Linked DNA regions of Homo sapiens: region 1 is linked to region 2. The links are contacts of gene promoters, found by promoter capture Hi-C in blood cells and fetal thymus (Javierre and others, 2016). All regions are on one chromosome and are shown on one strand. Each heading gives the region's core, a stretch centred on a gene start or on the middle of the fragment in contact. The rest is flanking DNA. Distances are from core to core; before and after follow the strand shown. Region 1 overlaps LIMS1 (LIM zinc finger domain containing 1). Region 2 holds the start of UXS1 (UDP-glucuronate decarboxylase 1).

What was found. Contacts are between HindIII fragments. The CHiCAGO score rates a contact against its expected background, and 5 or more counts as called.
Region 1: a fragment that was not itself captured here is called in contact with the fragment with the promoter of UXS1 in region 2 in 1 of 17 cell types (M2 macrophages); the score reaches 5.7 in M2 macrophages.

Annotation. Positions count from the first base shown.
Region 1 is chr2:108,631,226-108,637,348 of GRCh38, reverse strand. All of the region lies in intron 1 of LIMS1 (LIM zinc finger domain containing 1), which reads right to left. Among named protein-coding and RNA genes, the nearest start is that of LIMS1-AS1, 44 kb to the left of the region's middle. RefSeq lists an enhancer at 494-1,068. The HindIII fragment of the contact is 2,606 bases long and covers 1-2,566 here.
Region 2 is chr2:106,191,626-106,197,114 of GRCh38, reverse strand. UXS1 (UDP-glucuronate decarboxylase 1) reads left to right here and starts at 2,814. Exons shown (of 15, transcript NM_001253875.2): 1 at 2,814-2,967. The coding sequence starts at 2,874. RefSeq lists a silencer at 2,732-3,341 and an enhancer at 3,672-3,721. The HindIII fragment of the contact is 11,333 bases long and covers 1,926-5,489 here.

The sequences.
Region 1 (6,123 bases), core at 14-2,513, 2.4 Mb before region 2:
AACCATGAGAATTTCAGAATAGAACAGAATAAAAAACATTTCACTTGAGTCAAGTGAAAACAATGAACCTTTTCAAATTCAAATGTACATATCTTTCACTGCCCGTTATTTTCTTTTTGACACAGAACATGTTTTGTGTAGATTTTACTGCATTAAACAGCATTTGAAAATACTGACCAGGATGAAGCAGAGGAACTAAAATACACACACACACACACACACACACACACACACACACACACACACACATATATGTATATTTTGCTGAATTTAAAAAGGTTTCTTTTCTTTCATTAACTTTAAATTTTGTGAAATGTACACAGAAAGGCAAGGGATTATTTCAGCTACCATAACTTAGATTTTGCCATAAGTACAATGAAAAAAGATGTGGAAATAGTATAAGGTCAGGAGGTCAACCACTGTAAGCTGGTGCTCATGTAACACTGCCCAGCTACAACCAGGCTAGCAGCATCTCCCAGGGGCCTCAGTCACTCCTCTTGTTCTGCAGGCTCCTGTGCTCAACCTTCCTCTCTCCCCACACAGAGCTCTCCATTCTCTGTCACGGAATGAAGCTATGGTTTTTGAAAGCAGTTCACAGGGCTAAGTAGGAAGCTCTTTATTCCATTCCTTACCTCTTCTCAAAAAGTGGTATTCTATACATCTAGCAATAATATATAAAAATATGGCAATTACCCACTTAGACAGACCCCCTTGTGTCCTGTAGGAGGCATCACTGGGATATTGCTAGGTGCTGGTGATGCAGTTACTGCTACCTCTGTGAATCTTTGTCCTCTATGAGCAGCACTGAGACCTTGTCAGTAGAGGGTGCTGGAGAGACACTGCAGGAGGAAGAGGTTTGCTTCCCAGTCCTGCCTGCTCCCTGGGCAAAGCTCCTGCAGCACTCTGGCTTCTTCGGTGTCTAGCTCCTGCAGGGCATGGTGGCTAGCACCAGCTTCAGTGGCACTGGCCCCTCAAAAGTTTTACAGCAGAGTGCCTTGGACCCTGATGGTGCATGCAGCCAGCAGCACCCATCCCTTGGCAGTCAGCTATGTAGGGGGTACCTTGGGTGAGGGAACTCACTGGGAACAGCCTTCTCTGGTATTGGAAAGGAGGATTTCCAGCAATCTGTGCCAGCGACTTTTCTGCATGCAGCATGCCCTGGTAGTGTGACCCCGGGCACGGAGTAGGGCTCCTCCCTTGGCACTCTAACTCAGCTCTAGGGTCCGTGGCTGCTCCTTACAGCGGCTATTCCTATACTCTTTTGCTTTCTCTCCTCTTACTAGCCAATTCCTTATTACTCCAAAACCTTGTTAGAGTTAGTAATTCTATCTTTATATTAAACCTTTCCTGTTCAAATTAGCGTGTGGGTTTTCTCTCCTGGTTGGACCCAGGCCGACAGAGGCAGCCTATGTGAGGACTCTGCAGCTGATGGTACTTAGACCTTTTGGGCTCTTTCTCCAAGATGTCACTTAGGAATTTAAACAATTGTATTTACATTCAAAACTAGGAACAGACGATTTAAACAACTGTATTTACATTCAAAACTAGGAACAGACGGGGGGGAGGAGTGTGTTATCACGTAAAGGTACAGAATAATAAACCTGTCAGTTAAACGGGAGTCCAAGTCTGTCTACCTCATTCTTTTTTTTGAGATGGAGTCTTGCTCTGTCACCCAGGCTGGAGTGTAGTGGTGCGGTCTCAGTTCACCGAAACCTCCCCCTCCTGGGTTCAAGCAATTCTCTGCCTCAGCCTCCCAAGTAGCTGGGATTACAGGCACCCACCACCACGCCTGACTAATTTTTGTATTTTTAGTAGAGACGGGGTTTCACCATCTTGACCAGGCTGGTCTTGAATTCCACCCGCCTTGGCCTCCTGAAGTGCTGGGATTACAACCATTCTTTTTTTTTTTTTTTTTTTTTAGAGATGAAGTCTTGCTCTTTCCCCCCAGGCTGGAGTGTGATGGTGCAATCTCAGCTCACTGCCACTTCTGCCTTCCGAGTTCAAGCGATTCTCCTGCTTTGGCCCCCTGAGTAGCTGGGATTACAGGCACCTGCCACCACACCCAGCTAATTTTTGTATTTTTAGAGATGGGGTTTCACCATGTTGGCTAGGCTGGTCTCGAACTCCTGACCTCAGGTGATCCACCCGCCTGGGCCTCCCAAAGTGCTGGGGTTACAGGCGTGAGTCACCGCGCCCAGCCACAGCCATTCTTTATTTATGTAAACTAGAGGCCACACATGGACTCATTGTTCAAGTCAGGGCCAGAAGATATGGCCACCCCACACCCCAGTGTAGACCCCCATCCTCATGGCACTTTCTGGCCCCAGTGACATGTCTGGGGGCCACTCAATGTGAGCTCCTGGGTTCCTCTGTGACCCCAGCAAAGAGGCAAACAGGGACACACACCCATTGGTCAGTCCTCAAGAACAAGAGGAGAATAAAGGAACTGAGGCGATCAGTGAACTTTTGTTCTTCTTGAAGATGACTGGGAGGGTGGCTAGGACAGCAGCTCCTTGGGCAGTCGCTGTGCTCTGCTGCGCCTGGCCGTGAGGGCTTCTGTGAAGCTTTACTGTGAGTGCTCCACATGCTTTCCTGTCATGGTCATTCCTGAGCCTCCCTTCCTGTCACATCACTCCCACAATAGAATGAAGCAGCCGCCTGTTTTCTAAATAGTCCCTCGATTTCAGGACATTTGTGGTGAAAAGGACCATGTGTACCACTTAACACTGATGTGTGTGGCGTCTCTCCAGAGATGTCGCCAGGACAAGGTGTCACATTCAGAAGGCACAGCTTCAGGAGCCTGAAAGCCAGCCTTGGGAGGGCTGAAAGATTTGCCTCTTGCTAGTGGTAGGGGCAATGTTCTGTATGAGCTTCTTTGTTTTCTGAGGGGATTGAGAAAAACCTAAAATGTAATGCAGTAACAGTCTGGACAATTTCTGTTACAAAATGAGCTTTTAGGAGATGACATATTACCTCATTATTTCTTCTCTTTCCTCATTATCTACCTCTCTCCCATTCCCCATTGGTATAGACATTAAATTGAACAGCTGGCATGCTGAATTAACATGAGAGTCACTGAAAACTGAGTGCTGCATGAGAGCTGGCAGCTGGCACACCAGAGAGCCCTGCAGTCCTTCTTCCCTCCCCCTACAGACATCCTGCTAGAAGGAGACCCCAACCTGACACAGGTCAGTTATTGCATGGACTTCCTTGAGCTTTGCCCAGCCTGCTTCCTCCCTCTCTACCCTTGTAAGAGTCTTTGAGGACAATCCTCCCTCCTCTTTCCTTTGGAGCCACAAAGAGGCTACAGCCAGCATCCAGTCCCCATCTCAAACACAAACCTCCAAGAAATACTACTTCTAAAGAACGGTGGTGTGCAAGACAGAATCACAAGAAAAGCTTGGTGGGAGAAACACCACGATGGAGCTCAGGGAGATTATTTCAGGAAATTTTGCAATTGAGGCACAAGGATGGACACACACACACACCTGTGTGTAAATTTCTTATCATTTAATTACTTAAATAATATAAAATAAAACTTAATTTTCCTGATTTTAGGGCAACAAAACTCCCTGCTCTAATCCTTTTATAAACAGCACTGTCGCCAGGGATTTCAGTTCAGAATGGCAAACATGCACTTGTATGACTCTGGGCCAACCAAGTCTTTTAAGTCAAACCTTTAACCAACTATTAGTAAAGCATAAGACAGAACAATCTCTTTTATGGCAGCTCATAAATGAAAAAGCAAAAATGTAATCAAAACTAACTTGGCAAGAGGCCAAATTCATAGGCTGAGAAAACAGAACAAAATAACTGAGCTTCAAAGAGTTTAGAACCTATTAGGAAAGCAAATCAAATGGTGAAATTGAGAGTGGTTCAAATAAACTAATAAATATGGTGACTATTTGGACTATGTTCAGACTGAATATAAGAGGTCTGACGCTCTAATGACAGCGCCTATGCTGGTTGTATAAAAAGTCAATAATTTAAGCCTATTTAAAAGCAGCAGTCATTTTTACTCTTCTATGGATGGCAATATTCTAACCTATTACAGACAAAGCACCACATGACTATTTCAAGAGACAGTTTTATCCTTTGAAATAAAACTGCTCTGAAACACAAAAAATAATTCTGTGTTAAAAGAATACATAAAAATAACCTCACCAAATCAATTAGTAAGAATTAAGATGCTGGCAAAAACAAAGGGACAGAAGAGCAGGAATAATTCAAAAGGCAAAACCAAATCTTCCACTGCCGTCATGATGAACATTAAATGTTCTATTTCAGAGCAGAGCAGGGGATACACGGATGCTTCCTGGAGTGGAGGGGGAAGGGGACAAGGGAGTCACCTGGTACACTTTATTAACCTGAGCACAAACATAATCAGAAGAACAATATCATAATGGCTCATAAGGCAATGTCAGTGCTTTCTCATTCAGAAATCAATGTGTACACTTGCTATGCAGGTACAGATTGCCTGTAAGTAAACTGCTTATATAAACAGACTTTTCAAGGTCAATTTACCTTCCTTTTGGTTTAATATTTTCATCTACATTTAAGTAGCCTGAGCCAGTATTCCAGTTCTCTGAGGCCACAATCCCAGGCACTCATGTACAGCTCTGTAGAAGTTGCTGAAGTGCCACTACTCACATGTTGATTCTATAGCAGTATCTGCATTCCCTCTTACATTTTCAAAGCTGAGGAGGCAGAGAGGCTTCTCTTTGGCTCGCTTACCATTCATTTGGCCCCAAATACCATTTTGTGCAATAAGATCTAGCACTGCCTGATAAAGAACAAGGTGTCCAGAACATCAGGACTCTGGGCATATCCTCCCTTGAGTTTTCCTTCACTGTTCATCACACTCTGAGAATGCGCGTTGCCTGACCTTGAGACACCTGGACCCTACATCCTATGCAGCATCAGCACTTAACTTTTAACATGGTGTCTTTCAAGGCAGAGAAGATGGCTGAATTTAGCAGATGAAATCACTGACACAAGGTACTTAGGAAGTAAAAAGCAATTAACTTTCTGCTTTTCAAACATGTGTGGCTTCCCAAAGAGTAAAAAGGGAAAGTATCAGCTGGGCACGGTGACTCAAGCCTGTAATTCCAGCACTTTGGGAGGCCAAGGCAGGTGGATCACCTGAGGTCAGGAGTTCGAGACCAGCCTGGCCAAAATGGGAAACCTCGTCACTACTAAAAATGCAAACATTAGCCAAGCATGGTGGCAGGCGCCTGTACTCCCAGCTACTCAGGAGGCTAAGGCAGGAGAACTGCTTGGACCCAGGAGGTGGAGGTTACAGTGAGCCAAGATTGCACCACTGCACTCCAGCCTGGGTGACAAGAGGGAAACTGCATCTCAACAAACAAACAAACACGAAAGTACCTATTCTGTGAAGGAGGCATATATGCAAAGCGGTTCCAAATGTGAAGGAGCTGAGAAACTAAAGAAGGAGAAAGACAAATCTATTTTGTTGGTATTGGGTGATTTACTGAGGGAACTTACAGACAGAAGTGTGGTCTTGGTCAGCCACAAAACAGGCAGATCTCTGCACCACTGCTCCCAGACCCAGGGCTTACAGACCATGAAGAAAGGGCACGTGTGCAGACAACCCTCCAGAACATGGATGCCGTACGCATCACAGCCTGGAGTCTGTGTGACAACATCCAGGTTGACATGTTCTTCCACTAGGGACAGTAAGTAAAGTAGTAATCAGGAGCCATTCAAAGGTCTCAAAGGAGGCTAATCAGAAGTCAACATGGCATGCTATAACAGATGTCTTAGAAAAAAAAAAAAAAGGCAACACGGTAGATTAGCATCCAAGACAGAGTCCCTTTTGTTCCACAGCATACAATCATTTGATATTTAAAATGAAACACAATAAATCCTCCTTGAGTAGGTCTAAATCTGTTAATATAAGAACATTCACTTCTTTTACAGATCATATTCAACTAGCAAAGGGAGAAACTCAAAGCTCCTAAAAATAACTGACTTGCAGAAGTCAATTACTAAGTAGTTATTCAAGACACTGGACCCAGGCCAGTGGGCTATACCCAGACTCCTCACCCACTCTCACTCAGCAACTTAAAACAAGTGTATTTACACTCAAAACTAGGAAGGGAA
Region 2 (5,489 bases), core at 1,565-4,064:
GATTACCTGAGGTCAGGAGTTCAAGACCAGCCTGACCAACATGGTGAAACCCCATCTCTACTAAAAATACAAAAATTAGCCAGGCGTGGTGGCGGGCGCCTGTAATCCCAGCTACTTGGGAGGCTGAGGCAGGATGATCACTTGAACCCGGGAGGCAGAGGTTGCAGTAAGCTGAGATTGTGCCATTGCACTCCAGCCTGGGCAACAGAGTGAGACCCCGTCTCAAAAAAAAAAATGCCATTGGCTGTCATGAGAACTCCCTTACCATCATGAGAACAGCATAGGGAAAACCACCTCCATGATCCAATCACCTCTCATCAGGTCCTTCCCTTGACATGTGGGGATTACAATTTGGGTGGGGACATAGAGCCAAACCATATCAATGAGGTAACAATGAAAGTGCATTGCATAACAGTCCCTGGCACATTGTAGAGGTTTATAAATGTTAATTTTCTCCACTCCTTAGGCTTTAAACACTTTAGAAGTCATATTACAATTCATTTTTTAATTACCCTGAGTGTCAAAAACACTACCTTTGTAACTTGTTCAAAAATATGTAATCGCTCAAAAATATTGTTGTTAACCTATCCACTGGAAATATGAGGGGGTTGACAGTAAGGGGAGGGAGCAGGGAGGGATGAGCCCAGAACCTGCGGGGGAAGTGGGGATGGGCTGGGAAGAAACAAGGGGGTCTGGGAAGAAACAAGAGAGGCAAGGAGCACAGGGAAATGGTGCTGCCTACGCCCAAGATCCCCGGAGGAGCTTGGAGGGTCTCTTTGGCATCTCCCTCCCTCAGGCCTTCTTACCTCCACTGGGTGCACACTTACTATTGCTTACTTTTTAATTCTGGCTGCGGCTGAGCAAGACACCAGTGTCCTGGGACACCAACCGCCTTCTGGGTGGCAATAATGACAGCAGCAGCTATTTCAACTGCAGCTGCTAACGGTATTTCCATATACTTAATCCCACAGGGCAGAAGTTGGCAGTAGTGTCCAGCAGCAGAAAAAAATGCTAACTGGGAATGCTGGGCTTAAGGAGTTTAGTACAGAAATGGCAAATACCCCACAATTTCTGACCTTTGTCGTCTAATAGGATACCTATCAACTAAACCCTACCTAAAACCTAAAATGCTTGAAATCCGCCTAGAAGCTTCAGTCTGATTTTGCCCATAGGTCAAATGTTAATGAACTATTATTTTCTTCCATTTCTGCTCCTCATCTTTAATCTAAAAACCACGGAGTCATGGAATGGGAAAGGCCTAGAGCTCCACTTGCTCTAGTTCTCTTTTCAAAAACCATAGCCAGAAAGCCACGAGGAAATGCAGACTTACAAACAAAATCGATTTGTTCCAAACTGGTGTGCTCTGGGGGCCTGGCCCCTCTGGGAACCCAGGACTCAGGCTCCCATGCCAGGTGTTTTGTCACTTGGCAGCCTCCTTGGACACGTCAGAGTCAGGGAGCTGGGCTTCTCGAAAGAAGTCCACTCCATCTATGGGCAGCATGCATAGCAGGGGCAATCCGCCTTAGCAAACCGCTCAGTGTTTCCTCCTAGTCAGGGATTCTCAACAGGTTTAGGGGAGGGGTAGGATGGAGGTAGGTTTTATCAGAATCACATCATTTGCACTATAGTTTGAAAGATGTAACATAAAGCTGCTGCTTTAGTACCAGCTGCCATATTTCCTTTTCTTGGAGGTTTCTAATAAATCTAAAGGAGGGTGATCTATTAAGTTTTGCAAAATGGCCTGAGGTTCCAAGAGGTAGGAGAGCCGCTGCTGACTTCAACTTCTCCGTATAGCTGAAGATGACCTCTTGAAGCCTGCAGATCCCAAATCCGGGATCTCTCTTAATGTGGCATCACACACATCTGTGTGTACCTGTCTTTTTTTCCTCCATGGGACCAGCTCTCTCCAGATCCAATGACAAGCTTCCGATTATCTGTGGATCTTCTGATACATCTCCTTGCTTGTAATCATCATTCAGTAAATGCTTTTTAAACACAGGTACCTCCTATGCAATCAGTACAGCACTCATAAAACAGATATACTCAACAAAAAGATTGAATGAAACACACACGACAACATGGTCAGGGTTTTTCTCTAGGCAGAGACAGCGCAATTTCATCTTTTCTTTTCCAAGTCTATCCTAAATTAATATACTTAGCACTGCTTTTTAAAATAATAATAAAAGACTATTATTAAAACAAAGGCACCCCAGTTGATCATAGCCAAGGAAAAAAAACGCAGCCAGTTTTTACTTCGGCAAGGTTTAGGGGATTTATCATTTTCGCTGCCGATATTCTAACTAAAAAAAGCCAACTAAACAGCCCAGAGAACGAGGCAACTTTCTGAGGCAGGCATTCAACTTCTAAGGCTCGGCCAAGTTTAGCAAATAAGTTTCGTTTCACTGCAACACCGGAATGCCCACCGCGTGCCCCCCTCCGGGCGGGGCTCGGAAACTGGCCACTGCAGTCGTGCCCTTGGGTTGGGGACGCACCTCAGCGAAACGAATCCAGCCGCACCTCCCGGCTGGCACCCGCGCGCTTTAACTCAGGGAAAACAGACCGGAACGCGCATGCGCCGCGGCGCGCCGCACCGCCCACCAGCCCTCCAGGTCACATTCTTCGAAAACCAAGGCAAGAAAGGCGGCAACTGCGCCTGCGGGTAGAGAAGCCGGAGGGGCGGGGGCGGAGCCGGAGGAAGGGGGTGGAGGCGCGCCTGCGCGGTGATCCCGCCAGCAGGAAGCAGGCGCGCGGGGGCGGGGGCGCGCGGCGGCAGGAGGCGGGGCTCTCGGGGCCGCTGCCGCCGCCGCCGCCGCGCATTGTGCAGCAGGCGGGCCCCCGCGCGGTAGGGCCCTGGACCCGCGCGGCTCCCGGGGATGGTGAGCAAGGCGCTGCTGCGCCTCGTGTCTGCCGTCAACCGCAGGAGGATGAAGCTGCTGCTGGGCATCGCCTTGCTGGCCTACGTCGCCTGTGAGTGCGCGCCCGCTGCCAGCTGGGGAGCCCCATTCATTCCCCGGCGCCGCGGTGGGCCGGGCGGCGGTGGTTCGGGGCCCCGAGGCGGCCCTGCAGCCCCGCGTTGCTCCCCGCCCCGGGCGGGGCCGGCGCTTTCTGCTCCCACCCCTTTCCACTCTTGCAGCAAAGCGGGCCAACTTGGGCGCACACCCCCTACCGCTTAGGCCCGGGCGCGGACCCCGGGCGGAGGGGCCCCTAGCAGTCCTCGGGCGGCCCCAGGTCTCTGCCTCCTGCCCGGGCGCGGGGGACTCGGCGGCGGCGCTGTCGTCCATGTCGCGCTGGGAGCCGGCGAGGGTCCCGGTCGGGGACTCCGGAGCGTGCCGCGTGGGGATACCCTTGGGGACAGCCGAGGTCGCGCCGCGGTGTCGGTTAAGTCGGATAAAAATACTGTGGCCATTGGCAGAGCCCCCGCTCCGACTGTTTGCTCCTCAGGAAAATTACTCAGCGTTTAACTCTTGGGGAGCCAAGTGTGGGCGGCTCCCCGGCCCGCGGCCGTGCCCAGGTGTCGGGGCGCACCGGCATCCCCATTCTAGGTTTTCCCCCGGGGCTCGGCGGCCGGGCGAAGCAGGCAGGCAGCTGGGTGGCCGGGCAGGGCGTGCCTGCAGCTTCTCTGTGCGCGGGTCCAGTTTCTGTCATCGCTCACAGCATGCTGCCTGGAGACAGGGCAGGAGGGGCACTTCGCAGGCAGGTGGTCGGCCCTCTGCTTGTTAGGGAAGTCAGAAACCGTCCTTTTAAAGATCTATTCGTTGGGAATGTTTTAATTGATGCTATTAATACGTTACCAAGTAGCAAAATTGGACTAGAAATAGCTCCCAGTGTGAGCTGCGTTTGAATGCTAGCCACCCAGACACACACTGAAATGAAATCACCTGCTAACCTGTTGGCGTTACCAAGATCTGATTCCAGAGGTGAGTGGGTACTTCACTTGTCTGAAGTGACTTCAGTTGAGCTCTAGGAAGGCAAGTATGAGTAGATCCAGCCTGTGTGCTACAGCCCAGCTGTTCAGGAGGTGGAGCTGGAAAACCCCAGCAGGACTCCGGGTTGCTAGGGGAGGTTTCAGGCGTCGGATGGGTGTTAGATGTGTGTAGTTTTGCAAGGGAGGAAGAACTAGTCTAAAGTGTGTGTGTGGTCAATCTTGAGTAAGAAAGCTGAGACCCAAGAGGAAAGACCATTTAAAGTTGAATAACTATTATTATGGCAGTAATACTACCTACATTTGTTGAGTGCTTAACTGTGTGAGTCATGATTCTTAGTGCCATTGTCTCAATCATTGAGCAACCCTGGGAAATCGGTACTATAATGATTCCTATTTTAGAGGTGAGGAAGTTAAGGCCAAGAGAGATTAGGAAATTTATGGATGATCACACAGATAGTAAGAGAAGGAGGGCCAAAATTTGAACCCAGAAAGGCCTGGGAGCAGGAGCTAGAACCCAGGTCTTCGAACAGCAGTTTCAATGTTTATTTTGGGGGTATTCTATAGTCGCTGCAAGGGTTTAGAATTAATAAAGTAGGGGATTTATGGAGCCATGGGAAGTTTTTTTTTTTTTTTTGAGACGGAGTCTCGCTCTGTTCAGCCCAGGCTGGAGTGCAGGGGCGCGATCTCGGCTCACTGCACGCTCCACCTCCCGGGTTCACGCCATTCTCCTGCCTCAGCCTCCCAAGTAACTGGGACTACAGGCACCCGCCACCACGCCCGGCTAATTTTTTGTATTTTTAGTAGAGACGGGGTTTCACCATGTTAGCCAGGATGGTCTCGATCTCCTGACCTCGTGATCCGCCTGCCTCGGCCTCCCAAAGTGCTGGGATTACAGGCGTAAGCCACCGCTCCCAGCAGGAAAGTTTTTTAACCAATCATTCATCTGACCAGGAAATCTTACCAAGTCCTTACTGTTGTCCCTGAATTTGGCACTAGGAGACACCATGGGGTGCTAAAACTTAACTGGTCTGTGCTGTGATGGTACAGACCCTATACCACATAGTGTAGCACGTTGATTCTCAGACTTAAGCATGCATCAGAATCAGTAGGGTTTTTTTTAAAAAACACAGACTGCTTGTCTCCCACCTCAAGTTTCTGATTCAGTTGGTCTGGGATGTGGCCTGAGAATCTGCATCACTAATAGGTTGTTCTGTATGCTGTTGCTGTGACCTGACACCACTTTGAGACCCACTGGCCAAGATGGTGAGGTGGGCATGAATTGGAAATGAAGGTTAAATTACAAACTGGTGTGAGGAAAAGGAATGCATGAGAACTATGCCAGGAACTCCTGAGTGAGAGCAATCAGGTACGTTTGTTTTGTTGAGGAATCAAAAGTGAGCTGAGAATGGACGGCTTATGTAGGAGTTAACAGGGAAGTCATAGGAGAGAGCGTGTTCTAGGAGGAGCAGTGTGTGCAGAGGTCCTGCGGCAGCCAAGAGCAGGCAGTATTCTAGGAATGCAAAGAAGGATGGTATTGTTGGAGTGTGAAAACAAAATTACAGCC